2 separate regions of the Homo sapiens genome follow, and region 2 is linked to region 1. The links are contacts of gene promoters, found by promoter capture Hi-C in blood cells and fetal thymus (Javierre and others, 2016). All regions are on one chromosome and are shown on one strand. Each heading gives the region's core, a stretch centred on a gene start or on the middle of the fragment in contact. The rest is flanking DNA. Distances are from core to core; before and after follow the strand shown.

Region 1 (3,733 bases), core at 358-2,857:
TACAATAAGAAGCTCCCACTTTACAGTTTAGCTTTTGCATTTTGGGGTCACACCACCATCTTACTCCCACTGGGTTGTCTGTTCCTTCTCTTACTCCCCAACATTATGGATTAGGTAGAAATGGGGTTGTCACCAGGGACTAAAGTCCATCCTCCTTACTCTTAGCCTGGTGGTCCTACCCAGAAAGATTTTTATCATAATCCCTAAGTACTCACAGAATGATACGGAGCTTCATGATTAGGAATACAGAGTGAGGACTATTCGGAGAGGGATGATGGAGAGAGGAATACATTTGGCCTTAGCTGCTGCCCCAGGGCTCTTAACTTCCTTAACGAGGGGGAACGATGAGAGGGGGCTTGCCTCAGGATCCCTTTTCTGAGGCTTATTTGACCACCTCACCTCTCCAGGTGTCAATAGGTGCAGTGAAAGGATGAGGAGGGATTAGTAAAACTTGGGGTATTGGTTAACCGGTAAGCAACCTATTTAGAAAGATTAGGGAGAACTCCCGAAGAGAGAGAGACACACAGAGATGAGACAGAATGAAGGGGAAAAAAAGGAGGGAGAGAGATTTAAGCATAGTGAGCTCAGTGCCCTAGGGACATGCATGACTCAAACAAATGTGTGAGAACAAAGAAGAGGGGGACGAGTTTCTGCTATTGTGTCACTTCATCCCTGGACCCCAAACTCCAGTCCTTTGGTACCGATGTCTAGGGGATCCCAGCCCCAGCAGTTCTGATACCTCCTCTCTTCTCTTCCACTGCTTCCCAAGCCCCTATTTCCCAAGCAGCCAAGAGTTCCAGTTAGAAGCAACTATGCTGGGGTTGGGATGTCTTCCTTCTCCCTCCAGGTCCAGCTGATCTCTACTGCCCCTGGGCACAGAGAAGAGAAAGGGCAAAGGAGCCAACAACCCAGAGGCAATCTCCCATCCAACCCCCGCACCTTGCAACACTTCTCAGAGGTTCAGATATCCAGTGTTTCCAATTCCTCAGCTTTCCCTAAACCTTCTCAGCTGCCTAGACAGGGCAGAGTAATGGAATGGAGTTGGGGAAAGGGTAGTCTATTGGTTCCCTCAGGGTAGCCCACCAGTTGAAGGATTCCTCCTGGCTACTCCCCAGCCCCTCAGCGGTGCCTTGCCTCTGGAGACCCCTCTCTGATCCCCATTCACAGCCTCCACCCCAAGGATCCCAGAGCACCCAAGAAACCACTTAGGTCTTCTCCTAGAGGAGTTCCCAAATATGTCAGATTCCTAAACCAGGGGCAATCTAGAAAGTCTGAGGTCTCCTAGGATACCGAAAGTTGGTTATTTTCCCCCCTCACCTCCTTCACCCCCCAGCCTGCCCCTCGGATCTCACTGGAATCCGCCCCCCCCACACACACCCTGCCTTTCAGGCACCTGTGGTGGAGTCACAGCAGGGTGAGGAGAGAGATGAGGCTCCCGGTGTTGTCTCTGGGGAGGCTGAGCCTGAGCTGACACTGCTGGACGAGGATCCCGGCTACCTTTGAGAATCTGCGAGGACCGCGCCCCGCCCCCGGGCCATTGCTGAGCGCTGAGTGTGGAAGCTCAGGCTGAGCTGAGCACAGGAGCCCCAAGCAGGCGCACCAGCGTCTGAAGCCCTCGGCCTGAGTTCTCAGTCCTTCCTCCAACCCTCCCCTTTCCCCGTGGCTCTCCTCTCCTCCTGCCCCTTTCGGCCAAGAGAGGAAACTTGAGCCCGATGTGGTTTCTGCCCACACCCCGCCCCCACCTTGCTCCTGGCCAGCGGGGGCACACATGGCTCCAAGCCTCTCCCAGCCCTCCTTTTCAGCCCAGGAGTCCAGCCAGGTCTGCGTTTCTCCCATGCATTTGACGAATTCCAACCTGATGGTCCACTCGAATGTGACCTTTAAACTTTATACAGGTTGTCGTCGCCTTGTGTCCCCACGGCTCTCCTAGGGACAGGGAAACTGAGTCATATCAAGGTGGAAGGCAGCTGAAGGTAAGGACCAGGTGTCTAGCTTCCCAGCTGTCTAGGCAGTTGGACGTTTAGGGTATAGCCTTCATTTACAGAAAACCTGGGCTCTGGGAACAAGGGCAGGGGAACTATTTGGAGGAGGAGGGGCAACTGACTGCTTTGATGTGTCCTTTCACCTGTAGCCTTCTCCCCTCCCCCCTCAGCCTCAGAAGTCCCAGGACAAAGGATTCTTTCTTGGCCAGGTTTTTGTCAGTGTGTGAAGGGAGTTAGGTGGGGGGCCACCCAGCAGGGAGATTATTCACCTCCCGTAAAGGGGACCCCAGGTGTCCTTTGTCCTCCTTTCTCCCAGGCAAAGCACCCCAGCCACATGGCACCCAACTCTGTTAGGCCAGTAAGTACCCTTATTCATCTTTTTTTTTTTTTTTTTCCAGAGAGGGGCTCACTCTGTCTCCCAGGCTGGAGTGCAGTGGTGTGAACATGTTTCACTACAGTCTCAAACTCCCAGGCTTAAGCAATCCTCCCACCTCAGCCTCCCAAGTAGCTGGTTCTATGGGTCAGTGCAACCATGCCCAGCTAATTTTTTTTTTTTTTTTTTTTTTTGGTAGAAGTGGTGTCTCACTATATTGCCTTGGCTGGTATTGAATTCTTGGGCTCAAGCAATCCTCCCCTCTTGGCCTCCCAAAGTGCTGGGATTACAGGCATGAGCCACCTCACCCAGCCCACTTATTCATCTTTTTGCCTGCAAGCTACACCACCAAAGCCCCAGGTCAAACATCTTTCTCCACAGACTGTGAGAAAAGAGCCTTTCTTCCTCCTAATTTGTAATGGCTTTCAGCTCTATATGTCTAGCTTCAATCCTGACATCTGCAGCTTACATTTTTTCTTCTTACAATGTTCAAGTTAAATTAGAAACATCTGAAGACTGGGGAAGCAGATAGGTGCCACTCTGGAGTAGGACTGGCATTCAACCAGCATGCTCTGATGGGATTGTATTTGCTGTTAAAATAATGAAAATGTTCAGTCCTAGTTGATAAAAGGCAGCTGCTGTGAGCCCTCTAAGTGTCCCCCACGACTCCACCAATAGCCTAGTTCTCCTCTAAGATCCCCAACAACCCAGCAACACAACCATGGAAGTAAAGAGGCAATGCTGGTACCATAAGGAGCCTCCTGTGCTGCCTGCTTCTGCTGGAATTGGCCAATGCCCATGCCAAACCTATGGTTAAATGCTTTGAATTCCATCCCTTTTCCAGTAGATCATGACTGCACATGCATGATCAAGGTAAGACAGGAGGCAATCCAATGCCTTCATTACATGTTACATGTGGGTTCAGAATCTCTTCAGACTTGGGCATGAATCTGGGTCACATATGTAGGCTCTCAGATATAATTCTCTCATTTGCATATTTATTTGGGCCACTCAGAGGGGATGAAGAATGGTAACAGTCACACTTGTGGCTGACTATATAATGATATCAGGTTATAGATAGTCAACAAACATTTATTGAATAAGAATTATCAGTTCAGGATACTGGTGTTGCATAGACAATTATGGGTAACACAAGGCTCATCATTCATTCATTCAACAAATATTTATTGAGTGTCTACTATGTTTTACATCCCAGGAACACAAAGATGAGCAAGACAGTCTGTATCTTCAGTCAAGTCTAGTCAGGGAATTACATTAATAAGGTGTATATAATAAAATAAAATAAAATAGGCCAGGCACGGTGGCTCATGCCTGTAATCCCAACACTTTGGGAGGCTGAGGCTGGCAGATCACCTGA
Region 2 (3,537 bases), core at 722-3,221, 200 kb after region 1:
CTGGGATTATAAGCATGAGCCACTTCACCTGGCCCCAACTTCTTAAGTAATAATGCTGATCAGCCTTGTCTCTCTTCTCCCACTCCCTAGAATTTATTGGGACAATGGGAACTCTGGATACGGAAAATGGGAATGATTAAAAACCTGAGAAAAGGAATTGGCAAGGTGGTGGAAATGAAGAGAACTCTTTTTGATTTATAATTTTTCCTAGGACCTTTTGCTTTGTGTCTTGAAAGAAAGTTGAAATAGAGTTGAAAATTTTCTTGAGTTACGGAGTTAAGGCCTCATTGGAATGGCAAGAATATTTTAATGCTAAAATTCATTCAAGTCTCTAAGATTTAAGGGTGATTACTAATTTCCTCTTTTTAATCTTGATTAATTTGGTTCTTCTTCATGGGGCCTATTTCCTAATTTAGTCTTAATAATTCAACAAATAAACCAGCATATTTATTGAGTGACTACTGTGTCCAAGAGGTATTGTTCTAGATCAGTGTTTTTCAGAATGGAATATTTGTACCAAAACCTCCTACAACAGTGCTTATATAAGTACAGACTTCTAGGCCCCACAACAGACTCGCCTACCTACCAATGCTAATCTCAGAGGACAGGGATTGATCTGTTTCTCAAGCATCCATAAATACCATGGTACTAGAGCACTGGTTCTCAAACTTGAGTGTGCATTGGAATCACCTGGAGGGTTTGTTAAAACACAGAGTGCCTGGACCCACCCCAGAATTTTGGATTCAGTGGTCTGGGGCGGGTCCTAAGAATTTGCATCTCTAACAAGTTTCCAGGTGATGCTGATGCTGCTGGATCACATTTTGAGAATTACTATGTACTTCTTGAGAACTACTTTGAGAATTATTATGTACTGTAGAAGTACAATGCACTGTAGTAGAGCATTGTGAGAAATATAAAAAAGTATTAGAGGCCGGGTGTGGTGGCTCATGCCTGTAATTCCAGTACTTTGGGAGGCTGTGGCGGGTAAATCACCTGAGGTCAGGAGTTCGAGAGCAGCCTGGCCAACACGGTGAAACCCCATGTCTACTAAAAATACAAAAATTAGCAAGGCGTGGTGGTGGGCACCTGTAACCACAGCTACTCCAGAGGCTGAGGCTGGAGAATTGCTTGAGCCCAGGAGGTGGAGGTTGTAGTGAGCAGAGATCATGCCATTGCACTCCAGCCTGGGCAACAAGAGTGGAACTCTGTTTCAAAAAAAAAAAAAAAAAGAAAAAAAAGTATTAGGTACAATTCCTGTCATTAAGGAGCTTATGCTGTAGTTGGGGGAGATACAACGTACACTATAAACATATAACAAGGAATATATGTATTTGACAATATAAAATATAATACAATATAATATTTGACATTGATGGGGTCTTTAGGAGAAGATGGGATTTGATCTGGGTACTAAAACATGATGAGGCCAAAGGTTCATAGGCATTCTTGGATATAAAAGAAGGAAAATATAGAGGTGTACAGGGGTGGGGTGGTAGATACTTGTTTATCTAGCTTACAGCTTTTAATTTTTATTTTTTATAGAGATGGGGTCTTGCTATGTTGCCCAGGCTGGTCTGGAACTCCTGAGCTCAATGGATCTTCCCACCTTTTCCTCCCAAAGTGCTGGGATTACAGGTGTGAGCCACCACGCCCAGCTTTGTCTAGGACACTTATGGGGGCATAAGACCAAAAAGGTTGGTGCAGTCTGTGAAGAGCCTTGAAAGCCTGTCCTTCTCCTCAGCTCCACCCACTTCATAGCCTTACCAAAAGTGCTGCACAGCCAGAAAGAGGAAGTCTCCCCTGCTGAGTGTGCAAGAGGAAGCACAAGAAGGCTCTGAGGGCCTGTGAGCCATAATGACTGATTTCACCCATGAGCCAATTGCAGAGGCAACAGAAGACCAGTGCACCAACCAGGCTGGGTCCCTCCGCCAGAGGGTGTCACCATCTAAGCTGAAAGTGTTTGGGGAGATCAGACATTGCTGTCTGGTGCTCCTCTCTCAGTGGCCATCATGTCTTTGACATCTGCTTACCAGCATAAATTAGCAGAGAAGCTCACTATCCTGAATGATCGCGGTCAGGGGGTTCTCATCCGTATGTATAACATCAAGAAGGTAAGCATGAACAATGGGACTAGTACTGATTATTCCAACAATAATAGGGCAGGGAACCCTGAGGCGGCAGGTGCAGCAGTTAGACTCCCACCTTTTTTTCCACTGCTTTTCCACTGACTATAATCTACATAATCACTCAGATTATACAGGCCAGCCAGTTCAGGAAGGCAGAAGTGGAGGCTTCTTTTCAAGGCTTCCCCTTTCTAGATATGATTCTTGCCCCAACGATGGCATCTGCTTTCCTCTGGGGATGGGGGTGAGGGTGGGGATGGGGAAACAACAGTGGTATTCCAAGTGACTTGGATAAAGGTCTGGGGTCCAACCTTCTGGGTTTTATTATTTATTGTTGATCCTCTACACTCTGAAGAGATCTGAAGCTGGGTCTCTGGCAAAAACTTTTCTGTGGAAGTGCTTCCCTAAAAGGAAAAAAAATAGATAATTAGGTATTTAGATTAAAAAGGGTAGGTGTCTTCTGAGCTGCTCCTGGGGTAGTTCATGCTGTGGTGGTTGTGTGTGTGTGTGTGTGTGTGTGTGTGTGTGTGTTTAGAATAGGAACTGAGGAATTGAAAGAAGCTAGTGACAAGAGGTGGGCTAGGGGCTGGGCAAACCATAGGAAGTAAAGAGATAAAGACAGGGGTGTTTATGGGGAGTTCCTGGCATAGAAAATAGGGGACTTTGGGGGAGGGAGCTTTTGTGTTTTTTGTAATAAAACAAATCACCAGGAACACGGTTTCTCTGTCACCATGAATCCTGTAAATGCCCTTTGGGATAAGATACTTACATAGTGAACAAAATTGTGACACTGAATCTTGTACAAAGTCTAACTCCTGAGCAGCTGCTTTTCTTGTTCCTTCCGGCTTCAGTTGAGGGGCGGGGAAACAGCTTCCTCTTTGTGCTGGGGCCAAGCAGGCATTAAACTCTACCCATCAAGACAAAATGCCTAGGTTGTTATTTCGCTCTTAGATACTTGGCTTAATGTCTTGGAATTTTTTCTTGACCTACTCTTATGCTTTTTATTTTTATATTTATTTATTTATTTATTTATTTATTTATTTTCGGAGTCTCGCTCTGTCGCCCAGGCTGGAGTGCAGTGGCACGATCTTGGCTCACTGCAACCTCCGCCTCCCGGGTTCAAGCGATTCTCCTGCCTCAGCCTCCCAAGTACCTGGGACTACAGTTGTGCACCACCATGCCCAGCTAATTTTTGTATTTTTAGTAGAGACGGGGTTTCACCATGTTGGCCAGGCTGGTCTCGAACTTCTGACCTTGTGATCTGCCTGCCTCGGCCTCCCGAAGTGCTGGGATTACAGGTGTGAGCCGCTGCGCCCAGCCTCTCATGCTTTTTAAATTAGTTCCCAGGTTGCCTTTTCCTAAGACAGATTATGAGAATGAATGTTGCAAGAAGAGGTATGTTTCTGAGGAGGAG

The links. Contacts are between HindIII fragments. The CHiCAGO score rates a contact against its expected background, and 5 or more counts as called.
Region 2: the fragment with the promoter of NCKAP1L here is called in contact with the fragment with the promoter of NFE2 in region 1 in 9 of 17 cell types (neutrophils, total CD4 T cells, total CD8 T cells and 6 more); the score reaches 10.6 in neutrophils.

What each region holds. Positions count from the first base shown.
Region 1 is chr12:54,299,408-54,303,140 of GRCh38, forward strand. It overlaps NFE2 (nuclear factor, erythroid 2), which reads right to left and starts at 1,608. Exons shown (of 3, transcript NM_001136023.3): 1 at 1,394-1,608. RefSeq lists a cis regulatory region at 1,380-2,354 and an enhancer at 1,755-2,495. The HindIII fragment of the contact is 10,882 bases long and covers 1-3,733 here.
Region 2 is chr12:54,495,781-54,499,317 of GRCh38, forward strand. It overlaps NCKAP1L (NCK associated protein 1 like), which reads left to right and starts at 1,972. Exons shown (of 31, transcript NM_005337.5): 1 at 1,972-2,111. The coding sequence starts at 2,010. RefSeq lists enhancers at 1,934-1,993, 2,104-2,163. The HindIII fragment of the contact is 9,210 bases long and covers 1-3,537 here.